Regions from separate parts of the Homo sapiens genome. Here regions 2, 3 and 4 are each linked to region 1. Evidence: promoter capture Hi-C in 16 types of primary human blood cells and fetal thymus (Javierre and others, 2016). All regions are on one chromosome and are shown on one strand. The core of a region is centred on a gene start or on the middle of the fragment in contact, and the rest is flanking DNA. Distances in the headings are between cores, read along the strand shown.

The links. Contacts are between HindIII fragments. The CHiCAGO score rates a contact against its expected background, and 5 or more counts as called.
Region 2: a contact is called between a fragment that was not itself captured here and the fragment with the promoter of ARHGEF19 in region 1, in 1 of 17 cell types (endothelial precursors). The highest score is 7.0, in endothelial precursors.
Region 3: a contact is called between a fragment that was not itself captured here and the fragment with the promoter of ARHGEF19 in region 1, in 2 of 17 cell types (endothelial precursors and erythroblasts). The highest score is 6.6, in endothelial precursors.
Region 4: a fragment that was not itself captured here is called in contact with the fragment with the promoter of ARHGEF19 in region 1 in 9 of 17 cell types (endothelial precursors, megakaryocytes, M2 macrophages and 6 more); the score reaches 13.1 in endothelial precursors.

Annotation. Positions count from the first base shown.
Region 1 is chr1:16,211,344-16,214,205 of GRCh38, reverse strand. It overlaps ARHGEF19 (Rho guanine nucleotide exchange factor 19), which reads left to right and starts at 1,554. Exons shown (of 16, transcript NM_153213.5): 1 at 1,554-1,704. RefSeq lists an enhancer at 1,052-1,750. The HindIII fragment of the contact is 4,473 bases long and covers 1-2,281 here.
Region 2 is chr1:16,430,292-16,433,467 of GRCh38, reverse strand. It overlaps SPATA21 (spermatogenesis associated 21), which reads left to right. Exons shown (of 13, transcript NM_198546.1): 2 at 544-678; 3 at 2,046-2,130. The coding sequence starts at 2,097. Among named protein-coding and RNA genes, the nearest start is that of SPATA21, 5.5 kb to the left of the region's middle. The HindIII fragment of the contact is 2,375 bases long and covers 400-2,774 here.
Region 3 is chr1:16,447,270-16,450,379 of GRCh38, reverse strand. NECAP2 (NECAP endocytosis associated 2) reads right to left here. Exons shown (of 8, transcript NM_018090.5): 3 at 2,406-2,510; 4 at 2,239-2,320; 5 at 1,179-1,287. Among named protein-coding and RNA genes, the nearest start is that of NECAP2, 8.1 kb to the right of the region's middle. The HindIII fragment of the contact is 2,430 bases long and covers 348-2,777 here.
Region 4 is chr1:16,358,346-16,361,412 of GRCh38, reverse strand. No RefSeq gene overlaps it. Among named protein-coding and RNA genes, the nearest start is that of SZRD1, 7.4 kb to the left of the region's middle. RefSeq lists a silencer at 734-950. The HindIII fragment of the contact is 7,817 bases long and covers 1-3,067 here.

The DNA of each region.
Region 1 (2,862 bases), core at 305-2,804:
GGGAGAATCACCTGAGCCCAGGAGGTCGACGAGACTGCAAGTGAGCCCTGTAATTGCACCACTGTACTCCAGCCTGGATGACAGAGTGAGACCCTCTCACTTGAGGACATTTTATTTTATTTTTTGACAATAAATACATAAAATAGACTGGGTGCGGTGGCTCACGTCTATAATCCCAGCACTTCGGGAGGTTGAGGCGGGTGGATCACTTAAGGTCAGGAGTTCAAAAACCAGCCTGGCCAACATGGTGAAACCCTGTCTTGACTAGAAACAAAAAAAATTAGTAGGGTGTGGTGGCATGCGCCTGTAATCCCAGCTACTGGGGAGGCTGAGGCAGAAGAATTGCTTGAACCTGGGAGGCAAAGGTTGCGGTGAGCTGAGATCCCACCACTTGCTCCAGCCTGGGTGACAGAGCAAGACTCCATCTTAAAAATAAATAAATAAATAAATAAATAAATAAATAAATAAATAAATAAAATAAAATAAAATAAAATTTACTGGAGGATGTACAAAGGTTATAGCAAACACTATGACATTTTGTATAAGGGACTGGAGCAGCCATGGATTTTCGTATGGGAGGGTTCTAGAACCAATTCCCCACAGATTCTGGGTACCAAGGGACAACTGTACTCACCTGATAAGTGGTAGCAGTATCTACCTGACAGGGTCATGGTGGAGATTAAATGAGTAAATACATGTGAAGTGCTCAGGACAGTGCCTGGCACCTAGTAGGTGAACAATAAGTTAGCTTCATGACTATTAGTCTGTGTACACATCTGCATATTAATATTAGGTGCCTGGCAATTGCTGGTAGCTCAAACAGATGGCAGGTAGAATTAGGGGAAAATGCAGCTTCCCATTCCACAGGGTTGGGAAGATTGCATGCCGGGCATAGAGCATGCCCTTCTTATTGGAGGCAGTTTGACTTGGCTATTTGGCTTGGTTTATTGAGGGCTCAATTGGTATAGTCTGGGAAGGCTTCATGGTGGAGGCGGCCACTGGAGATGGTGGGGCAGGTCATTCCAGGCCGTGGGAAAGGATGGGGATTTGCAAGCAGTGGCTGTACTAGATGAGGAGAGGCTGTCCAGGATGATGCCACATGTCACATCATCAACTTTCAGGACTGATTTCTGTCTCCCAATCATAGGGATGAGTGTTCCAATTTGATAGATGTAGTAATAGGATCAGAGAGGGTCATCAGGGTTCTCAGGGTCCCTAAGGAGTGCAGGGCTTGGGAGGCTCTCTGTGAAGCTCCCAGGATGCTCCCCAGCTCCAAGAAGTCCCCTGAGCATGCTCATGTTTGGGAAGCTCCAGAAGAGTGGTGACCTGTCTCCTAGGAGCAGAAGCACTGCCTCCCCCGTCTTTAGGACCTGGGTGTAGGGTCCTTCAGAGCCTCACTTGGGCATAGGACTCCCATTGTTCCAGCCCCCCTCTTGTACCCCAGACTAGCCAAACCGGTTCTGGGGAAGGGGGGCGGGGAGCAGGCACGTTGAGACAGCCGCCTGCCTCTCTCTGCAAGGTTCCCTCCTCCTTCACCTCCCCCTCCCTGCCCCACACAATACCCAGGAGCTTGCCTTGCTCGGCTCTGGGGCCATGCTGACATGCTGACATCGCCCCCTGAGGACTTGGCTGCAACCCCAGAGCCCCCAGGGTGTCCCGGAGCCCTGGACCGTGCTGGCAGCTGGACGGAGCTCCCTGGCTGAGGTAGGGCCCCACCTGGGTGCCAGCAGTCCCATTCTCTTCCCGCCAGTTTTCCCCGCTGAGTGAGCCCTTTGTGCTGCCCGCCTGGTCTCTGATCCTGGCTCTGACCCACTATGGCCTTCTGGGGCTCTGTGAACCACTTGGCCTGGATCCACTTTCCAGCCATGACTTCCCACCTGGCTTTATTCCTTAAAGGGCAGAGAGGCTCTGGCAGGGTACCAGCTCTCCTGGGCAGCAAGGCAAGGGGCACCCGGGAGGGGGCAGGGAAAAGCTAGGTACAGGAGGCCAGAAACACTTTTTCTGATCATGGTAGTGTCCAGGGACTCTCTGGCAGCCTTGCTAAGTGGGCCCATCGTCTTCTGTAATTAGCAGCACCCACCAAGGGTACTTTCCTCGGCCCCTGCCCATCCTTCTTGGCCCAGAGACATTTATGATGAGACATGTTTCTTAGAGAGGGCATTGGGCGGTGGTGCGGTCCCTTAGGAGCCACTTTACAGATGGGAATACTGAGGCCAAGGGATGGGCTGTGAATTGCCTAAGGCCACACAGCTGGTCAGTGTCAACACTGGGCCTCAAAGCTTGGGCGGAGGTTATTCTTTTTGGGCTCCAGAGTGGCCCTTGCCTAGTAGACACAAGAGTCTCTATCCTGTGATCGTGCCTTGGGAAGGTAATGTCCCTGCTGTCTGGGGCCAGTTCTCTTTCTGAGGTTTTTGTTTGTTTTTTTCTAACAGAGATGAGCTACACACAATATGAACACAGCTTGTCCCTCTTAGCTCCCCAGCATTGAGGTTGGGTGGGCCAAACCCCTGGAGGGCCACAGGGCTGGCATCCCAGCTAGATGGGTCATTCTTATTACCCCTTGGCTTGAGCATAGGTGGAGGCTGACACACTCCTGACTTCTTCCCTGCTAGGGACCTGCCTCCAGCTTCATCTCCCCGGGAAGCCTTCTATGTCCCCTCTCCCCACATTCACCTAGCCTTCTCCTCTGCAGCCTTAACTGGGGGTGCTCCTGCTGCAAAGCCTCAATGTTTTGCCTACTTATCCCTGTGAGCCATGGGAGAGAGGGTCCCTCCCTGCCCTCCAGGAGCTTCCAGAACCCAAGTGCTAGAATCTCCCAGCATACAAAGGGGCAGGGGGCATGTGTACATGCCTGCACATGTG
Region 2 (3,176 bases), core at 338-2,837, 220 kb before region 1:
GGAACCCTAATGAGAAAGAGGCTGGGGAGGGGCAAGGAACTCCAAGGCAAGAGAGAAGGACTTGGCCACAGCCCTGACTTTTCCGCTCCAGGTGACAGCCTGGTCCTTCGTGAGGCCAGAGCTGCACCAGGGGTGGGAGGTCACCCCACCAAACCAGCTGAGGTCTGCTTTGCATGGCAGGGGTGCAGCTGTAACTGCAGGAAGGGCCTGGAGGGCAGGAAAAGGAAGTGCGAACTTGGGTCAGCAGCTATTAAGTGCGCCTCCTCTGTGTCCCTGGTAAACTGTGGGAACCGTCAGGACACCCAGTGTATCCCCTAAGGCCTGACGTTGTCCCTAGCACGGGCACGTGTCATTAAACAGTTATCGATTGCACAAGGAAATGAATGAATGACTTAAGCTTCTTTGTAGGCAAAATGATATGATGAGATGAGTGGCCATGGGAGTCAGACAGGCCTGGGTTTGAATCCAGTTCCTCTGCAGACTGGCCATGTGGTATCGGACAAAACATTGCTCAGAGCCTTAATTTCCCTATCTTTAAAACAGGGCTGAACCCAGACTTCACAGGGCTGTTAGGAGAATACTGTTTACAAAGGTTTCCAGCACATGGAAGGTTCCTCCGTGGATGCTGGCGGGCCTGCCATGATTTAAAGTGGAAGAAGCACCATCAAGATCTTCAAGGTCATATGGTCTCACTACAGGAGGAAGGGGCATGGGGGTTAGGATTTACTCCTGGAAACTAGTTAACAGTGAAAGGGGGTCCATGTACCCATAGAAATGGTGCTGATGTTGCCTCAAAGGAATTCAGTGGCTGGAGAGAGAGCTGAGATGGTTGGAAACTTGGAGAAGAGGGAGGAGCTTGAAGGATGGGTTGGGGGCTATCGGAAAGATAGAAAAAATGGGAGGTGGGCACAGAGGCTGGGGTCTGTGGGACTAGGATTGCAGGAGCCTGCCTGGATTAAAACAGAAAGTTTGTGTAGGGGGTGGTGGCACAGCTGAACATGAGGTTGGATGAAAGAGGTGGAGGAGAGATGAAAGGCTTCAGAAATGGCCAGGTGCAGTGGCTCACACCTGTAATCCCAACACTTTGGGAGGCCGAGGCGGGCGGATCACTTGAGGTCAGGAGTTCAAGACCAGCGTGGCCAACCTGGTGAAACCCCATCTCTACTAAAAATACAAAAATTAGCCGGGCATGGTGGCGGCCGCCTAAAATCCCAGCTAGTAGGGAGGCTGAGGCAGGAGAATTGCTTGAGCCCAGGAGGCAGAGGTTGCAGTGAGCCAAGATTGCAGCACTGCACTCCAGCCTGGGCAACAGAGCGAGACTCTGTCTCAAAACAAACAAAAAAAAAAAAAAAAGAAGAAGAAGAAGAAGAAAAGAAAAAGAAAAAGAAAGGATGTGTCCAGGGCAGGGTGTGGGTGCTTTGGTGAACTGCAGATTGCCGCTGGAGACTTTGGGGCCCTGAGACAGATGGACAGATGTCCCTAGTTCTTGTTCCTTAGCCCCATCTAAGAACATGGAGTTTTCATCTATAGCAGGAGCAGCTGTGACATTCTTGGACTCTCTTTAAAAGGCACATTAGTATTTTAAAGGCTCTGAGAAGTTGTACAGGAAAGAGCCTGTATCATTTCGCTCATCACAGCACTTTCCAAAGGCATTTAGCCTTGGAACCCCTTGGAGCATCTGAAGGGACCAGTATGCCAAAGAATACCCTGTAGGAAATGTCGCCGTCGGGGAAAGCGCCTGGGTTTTGGGATTCAACAGGCCATGGTTCAAATCCTCGTCTGCGACCTAGCAGGTGTTAGATCTTGGGCAAGTCTTGTGCCTTCCAGAGCCCCTTTTCCTCAGGGTCATAGTGAGAACTAGGAAAAGCGTATGGGTAAATGGCATGTGGCTAGCTCTCTGGTTTTGCTGCGTGCCTCTCCTTGCAAGGCCTGGCCCCGCCTCTTCCCTCGAGCCAGGCTGTCTACATTATAGGCTCCAAGTGGGCTCCTGAAGCAGCAGTTAGGTGATGGGCTTGGTGGGACGCTTGATTGGATTTCTCCTGTAGGAGCACACTAGGTGATGCCCCTCACTTGGCACCCGTGTTGGCGCTGGCATCATGGACAATAGAAACACCCAGATGTACACGGAGGGTAGAACCAAGGCTCCAGGGACGCAGCCAAGTCCTGGCCTGAGGATCACCATAAAGAGGGCTGGTGTTGAGCCCATCATACCAGGAGTCAGCAAGGTAGGGACCTGCACCCCATGTTCTGATCCATTCACTCCTAGCTGGCACCTTTCCCTTCCCCTGCCCAGGCTTCCTCCCCAGCTGCTTTAATTAAGACTCTGTTAAAAATGGACACAAAACCCAATTCAAACTGGATTAAGCAGAAAAGAGAATATATCAGTTTGGGTAACTGACACATGCCTTCATAGACTTCAGGTATGGCTAGATCAATGTGCTAAATGAGTATCTCTTGGCTCTATGTTCCTCCGTGTTGGATTCATTCTCAGGCAAGCTCTCCCTGCAAGATGGCAGGGATTGCCCTGGCCACTCCAGGATTACATCTTCCCATCTTACACCCTCTGGTTTAGCATTCCAACAGGAAGTGAGCCTCTTTGCAATAGTTGAAACAAGTCTCTAGCATCACTGTCATTGGCCCAGATTGTGGTCAGATGCTCATCCTTGAACCAATCACCATGGCAGTGGGGAGTGGTCTGGATCTCTTGATACAATGGAGACAGAGGTGATAGGTGGCTCCACTGAGCCCCATGGGCTGAATGGAGAAGAGAAGCTTCCCAAAAACAATGCTGGCTTCTGTAACGGAAAGAGCTGCAGGGTGAGCAAACCCAGAATTGCCTACTCGCTCTTCTAGGTGCCTTGCATGGCCTCCAAACTCCCCTCACAGCCTCCAGCCCAGCTTTATTCTCCTGAGAGCTACTCAGGGCTTCCCTCCATGCCCCTCCCCAGAGCCCAGCCTGCATCCTAAGCTTCCATCACACCTCTCAGCCTCTTTCCATCAAATATGTTTATTAGTTTGTTTGTTTGTTTATTTTTGAGACAGGCTCTCACTCTCTCACCCAGACTGGAGTGCAGTGGTGCGATCACGACTCACTGCAGCCTCGAACTCCCAGGCTTAAGCGATCCTCCTGCCTCAGCCTCCTGAGTAGCTGGAACTATAGGCGTGGCTTGTGCCAC
Region 3 (3,110 bases), core at 313-2,812, 240 kb before region 1:
CCCCAACCCTCCCTAAGCCTCCATTTCCTCATCTCATGGAGGAAAGGGAGAGGATGTTTAATTCACATGAGAAATGCCTAAAAAAAAAAAACAACAAAACAAAACAAAAAACAAAACAAAACAAAAAAAAACCACTACCTGGCCCTCAGCTGATGCTCATTAAATGTTAGTTTCCTCCAAGCGAGAGAAAGAATCACATCCCAACCAGTCCACTGGATTGGACTTGCATTTCTCTCTTAAGGGCCAGCTGGCCAACTTCAAGGATCCCAAATCATCACCAGCACGAAGCAGAAAAGAGGAGAAAGAGTAAGTAAAGAGGAAAAGCATTATTTTAGAGTTACAAAGCTTCTTGAAAAAACAAATCCATCTCAACACAGTATTCCTAGCAAAAACAAAAACCAATCCACTTGGTCCTTGGGTCCCCGCAATCATGACTCTGACCTCATCTCCCCTCTCCACCCTTGCAGCCAGGTAAAGGCCAACTTTAGGCAACCCAGCCCAGCCCAGCCCAGCCCAACCTGTTCCTATGAACAGGAGCTGACGGGAGGGAAGCCAGAGGCAGAGCAGCTCAGAACGAAGACACAGGAGCCAGGACAACACCATCAGCACAAGCTGCCCAGGACTCCCAGCGCCCACCTCAACGCCCTCCTGCCAGAACTCTCCCAAATCTTCCTTATTCAAGACACAGCCTGGGATGAGCACACAGGTCCCTCCTGATGCACTCTAATAGCTAGGACAGAAACACCACCTCTGGCAGCAAATGACTGATGCTCCTTCTCAGTTCAGAGGCTTTGCACCTGCTGTTCCTCTGTGTGAACCACTCTTTGATCACTCTTCCCTTGCCTACAGGTCCCTTCTTCCAGGAAGCCTTCCTTGGTTCCCACAACTATGGGCTGCACACCCTTCCTCTAGGAGCCCACGGCACCCAGGGCATCCCTTAGTCATGGAACCTTTCCTGCCATGTTGTTATCACATTTTTACCTGCCTGTCTCAGCTCAACTCTGAGCTCCATGAGAACAGAGGTCTCTTGTTCACCCCGATGCAGGACCTGGCACAAGGCAGATGCTCACTAAACATCTGCTGAACTGAAGGAGCTGAACTGTAAGAAGAGCAATGGGCTCTGGGGCTGGGTGGCCACAAGTATCACGTCACCACAGCCAAGCAAGGGTAGAACTCACTGCGATGTTGAGCTTGATGGTCTGGCCCTCCTTGAAGCCCAGGTCCAGTTTAGGGCCTTGGTCTGGGTTCTGGGCTTGTTTTGCAAATTCACACTGCTGTTTCACCCACCTGGGGAGAGAACATGAGGAAAAAGGTGAGGAAGGAAGAGACCAGCTGCCCTGCAATCACTGGCTCACTTCACTACTGCCTGCTATCAGTCCAGGCTGAGCCTCGTAGTGAGACGGGGTGCTGGAAAGAGTGCAGGCTTGGGAGTGAGGCCTGAATTCAAATCCCAATCTGACACTTAAGTAGCGGCATGCACATTGGTTTCCTCATCAGCAAAATATGCCCACAATTCTATAGGTTTTCAAGATGGCTACGAATGCAGCGAGATCACTTACGTAGAGGGTCCTAACACTATCTCTAGGACACGTGAGAGCCTGCCCTTCCCTCTACAGTATATGACATGAGAACTAAGATGCGGTCTCTACACACCCTCAAACACTCAGAAGGCAGACGGGGGGACAAGACAGATACCCAAAAGTAGAGGGCAACACAAAAGTCCCCCACCCTCCATACCACACCACCCAGCAGCACCGGTAAGGGAAGAGCCAGAGGCGCCCATGTGAGTGGCCGGGCACAGCCCACTCACTGGCAGCCTGAGTTCGAGCCCTGCAGATGGTGGAGGAGGACTTCCTGCCCTGTCTCTTAGCTTCAGAAAAGGACATCAGGGCATCTGCTGGGTGCCCTGGGAATCCAAGCGCCATTGATTACATGGAGGAGCAGGCCCAGAAAGGCCACAGGAGCCTGATGAGGACTCTGGCTGCTCAGGGGACTGGTAAGGGGAGACAGGTGGCAGGCCCGAAGGCTGGGATGGTAGAGATGAGCCTCAGGTAAAAGAGAAGGCTTTACAGCAGAGATGAACATTGGCAGAGAAGAGAGGTGGCTTGTCCTGGGTTCTCCTGAGTCTCTGCTGCCAGACAAATCACACACAAACACTTGGGTATCCTAACCTGGGAGATCATTCTGTCCAGGGAAAGAAGGGAGGGGCATGAGCGTGTGTCTCCCAGACCCACTCACTTGAAATGGTCCTGCAATGCAACATTGAAGTCAAAGGCATCACCTCGGTCCCCGAAGCCAATTCCAATAAACGCCCGTCGCCCTGGGGAACAACACATGATCAACCCACCTTCCAAAGGCAGAGAAAACCTTTCCCAAGAGGAGGAAGCACCAGGACCCATGCCTACCATTTCCATCTTCGATGCGGATCACGAAGTACCTGCTGGAATCCGTCACACTCTCCACAGCTGTGCCAGGAAACTGATCCACCGGGGCCTGAGCAAAGAGCTCCCCTGAAAGCACAGGTTAGGCTGAGCGCTGAGCCCTGAGCCCCCTTCCAGCCAAGGTTTTCTACCACACTACTGGGCCTTTTGCCCGCAAGGCATCTCTAACCAGCTGAGACAGATCGGCAAACCTTACTGTGGGATTCAAATCGAATCCATTCTTGCTAAAGGGAAGACACAGAAAATATAATCAAGGAAAGGCTTAAGTCAGAGAGCTTACAGGTCAAATTTAGCTCACAGTTTGGTATTCTGCCTGGCCTCTCTTAAAATTAAGCTTTATTAATGCTGAGCCTCCAAGCCCACCTGAGAATAAGTTGGAGCTGCTAGCCCATCCATTCCATCTGCTTTACCCACTTATATTACCTGAACCCTGAGTGTCCTAGAACAGGTGAACCCTGGCCTAGGTAATCACACCTGCTGAAGAGGCTAGTACCTGAGGCAGGACTATAAGAGGGGCCAGTGAGCCCCGAGGAAAGAAGGGAGGAAGTTTTCATACCCATAGGGAATCTGAAGCAGGCTGATTTAATTCAATCTGAGACAGGGCAAGCGTGACTAGCTTTAAAAGCCCTTGTGAAACACATCACCTTGTCAACTACAGCACTCGACAGT
Region 4 (3,067 bases), core at 501-3,000, 150 kb before region 1:
GTGGCTCACACCTGTAATCCCGGCACTTTGGGAGGCCAAGGCAGGTGGATCACCTGAGGTCAAGAGTTCGAGACCAGCCTGGCCAACATGGTGAAATCCCACCCCTACTAAAAATACAAAAATTAGGTCTGGTGCAGTGGCTCATGTCTGTAATCCCAGCACTTTGGAAGGCTGAGGCAGGCAGATCATGAGGTCAGGAGTTCAAGATCAGCCTGGCCAGCATGGTGAAACCTCATCTCTACTAAAAATACAAAAAGTTAGCCGGGCATGGTGATGCGCACCTGTAATCCCAGCTACTCAGGAGGCTGAGGCAGGAGAACTGCTTGAACCTGGCAGGTGGAGGTTGCAGTGAGCCAAGATAAAGCCACTGCGCTAGCCTGGGTAACAGACTCCATCTCAAAAAATAAAAATAAAAAAAATAAAAAATAAAAAAATAAAAATAAGGCCGGGCACGGTGGCTCATGCCTGTAATCCCAGCACTTTGGGAGGCCAAGGCGGGTGGATTGCCTGAGGCCAGGAGTTGGTGACCAGCCTGGCCAACATAGTGAAACCCTATCTCTACTAAAAATACATAAAATTAGCTGGGCGTGGCAGCAGGCGCCTGTAACCCCAGCTACTCGGGAGGCTGGGGCAGGAGAATTGCTTGAACCCTGGAGATGGAGGTTGCAGTGAGCCAAGATCGCTCCATTGCACTCCAGCCTGGGCAACAAGAGCGAAACACCATCTCAAAAATAAATAAATAAATAAAAATAAAAATACAAAAATTAGCTGGGCGTGGTGGCACGCACCTGTAATCCCAGGTACACAGGAGGCCGAGGCAGGAGAATCGCATAAAGCCTGGAGACAGAGGTTGCAGTGAGCCGAGATCATGCCACTGAACTCCAGCCCGGGTGATAGAGCCAGACTCAGTCTCAAAACAAACAAACAAACAAACAAAAAGAAAATGTGCATACCTAAGGATATCCATTGCTATTTTGTCTATAATCAAAAAAGACTGGAAACAAATTAAATGTTCATCGCTAGAGAATTTGTTTTAAAAGACTATGGTACATTCCTATAAAAGAATAGAATGCAACTGTTAATAACATTTATATTGTCCTAAATGCACTGATACTGAGTGATCTCACATGAGAACTAAAAATAAAATCCTAAACCTTCCAACGGACTAAATGGACACCCTTTTGGTACAGGGGACCCCAGAGAAGCCATGATGGAACAGGAAGTCAGACACACTTGGTTATACCCTATCCCTTTCACAGTTTAGACACAACAATTGACCAGCATTAATGCTAAAATAGAGATCATAAGACTGACACAACAAATGCTTTGTGGTAATAAGATGCTTTTTTTTTTTTTTTTTTGAGACACAGTCTCTCTCTGTTGCCCAGGCTGGAGTGCAGTGGCTCGATCTCGGCTCACTGCAACCTCCACTTCCCAGGTTCAAGAGATGCTCCTGCCTCAGCCTCCTGAGTAGTTGGGATTACAGGCTGGCAACACCACGCCCGGCTAATTTTTGTATTTTGAGTAGAGATGGGGTTTCACCATGTTGGCCATGCTGGTCTCAAACTCCTGAGCTAGTGATCCTCCTGCCTCAACCTCCCAAAATGCTGGGATTACAGACGTGAGCCACCGCGTGCGACCAAGATGCCAATTATAAACAGGACATAAGGTCATACCAAGCAAGGGTTAAGTCATGCACCCCAACCCTTTAAGAATAAACTATGTTCTGGCCAGGTGTGGTGGCTCATGCCTTTAATCCCACCACTCTGGGAGGCCGAGGCAGGCAGATCACCTGATGTCAAGAGTTCGAGACCAGCCTGGCCAACGCCGTGAAACCCTGTCTCTACTAAAAATACAAAAATTAGCCAGGCGTGGTGGCGCATACCTGTAAATCCCAGCTACTTGGAGGCTGAGGTAGGAGAATGGCCGGAACCTGGGAGGCTGAGGTTGCAGTGAGCCGAGATCATGCCACTGCACTCCAGCCTGAAAGACAGAGCGAGACTCTGTCTCAAAAAAACAATAAATTGGGCCGGGCGTGGTGGCTCATGTCTGTAATCCTAGCACTTTGGGAGGCTGAGGCGGGCGGATCACGAGGTCAGGAGATCGAGACCATCCTGGCTAACATGGTGAAACCCCATCTCTACTCAAAATACAAAAACAGCCAGTCGTGGTGGCACGCACCTGTAGTCCCTCAGGAGGCTGAGGCAGGAGAATGGCATGAACCCAGGAGGTGGAGCTTGCAGTGAGCCGAGATTGTGCCACTGCACTCCAGCCTGGGCGACAGAGGGAGACTCCATCTCAAAAAAAAAAAGAAAACAAAAGAATAAATTATGTTCTGGGCTGTACACAGTGGCTCACACCTGTAATCCCAGCACAATTTCAGCACCTTGGGAGGCCAAGGCAAGGTGGGCGGATCACCTGAGGTCAGGAGTTCAAGACCAGCCTGGCCAACATGGAGAAATCCTGTCTCTACTAAAAATACAGTAATTGGCTGGGCGCAGTGGCTCACGCCTGTAATCCCAGCACTTTGGGAGGCTGAGGCGGGTGGATCACCTGAGGTCAGAAGTTGGAGATCAGCCTGACCAACGTGGTGAAACCCTGTCTCTACTAAAGACACAAAACATTAGCTGGGCATGGTGATGCGTGCCTGTAACCCCAGCTACTTGGGAGGCTAAGGCAGTAGAATCGCTTGAACCCAGGAGGCAGAGGTTGCAGTGAGCCGAGATTGTGCCATTGCACTCCAGCCTGGCTGATAGGGCAAGACTCTGTCTCAGATAAATAAATAAATAAATAAATAAATAAATAAATAAATAAATAAAATAAAAAACCAAAAAATACAAAAAATTAGCTGGGCGTGGTGGCACACACCTGTAATCCCAGCTACTTGGGAGGCTGAGGCAGGAGAATCGCTTGAACCCGGGAGGGGGAGGTTGCAGTGAGCCGAGATCACGCCATAGCACTCCAGCATGGCGACAGAGCAAGACTCTGTCTTGAGAAAAACAAAACAAAACATATAGATAGAAAAGGTACGGTAAAAATATGGTATTATAATCTTATGTGACCACCA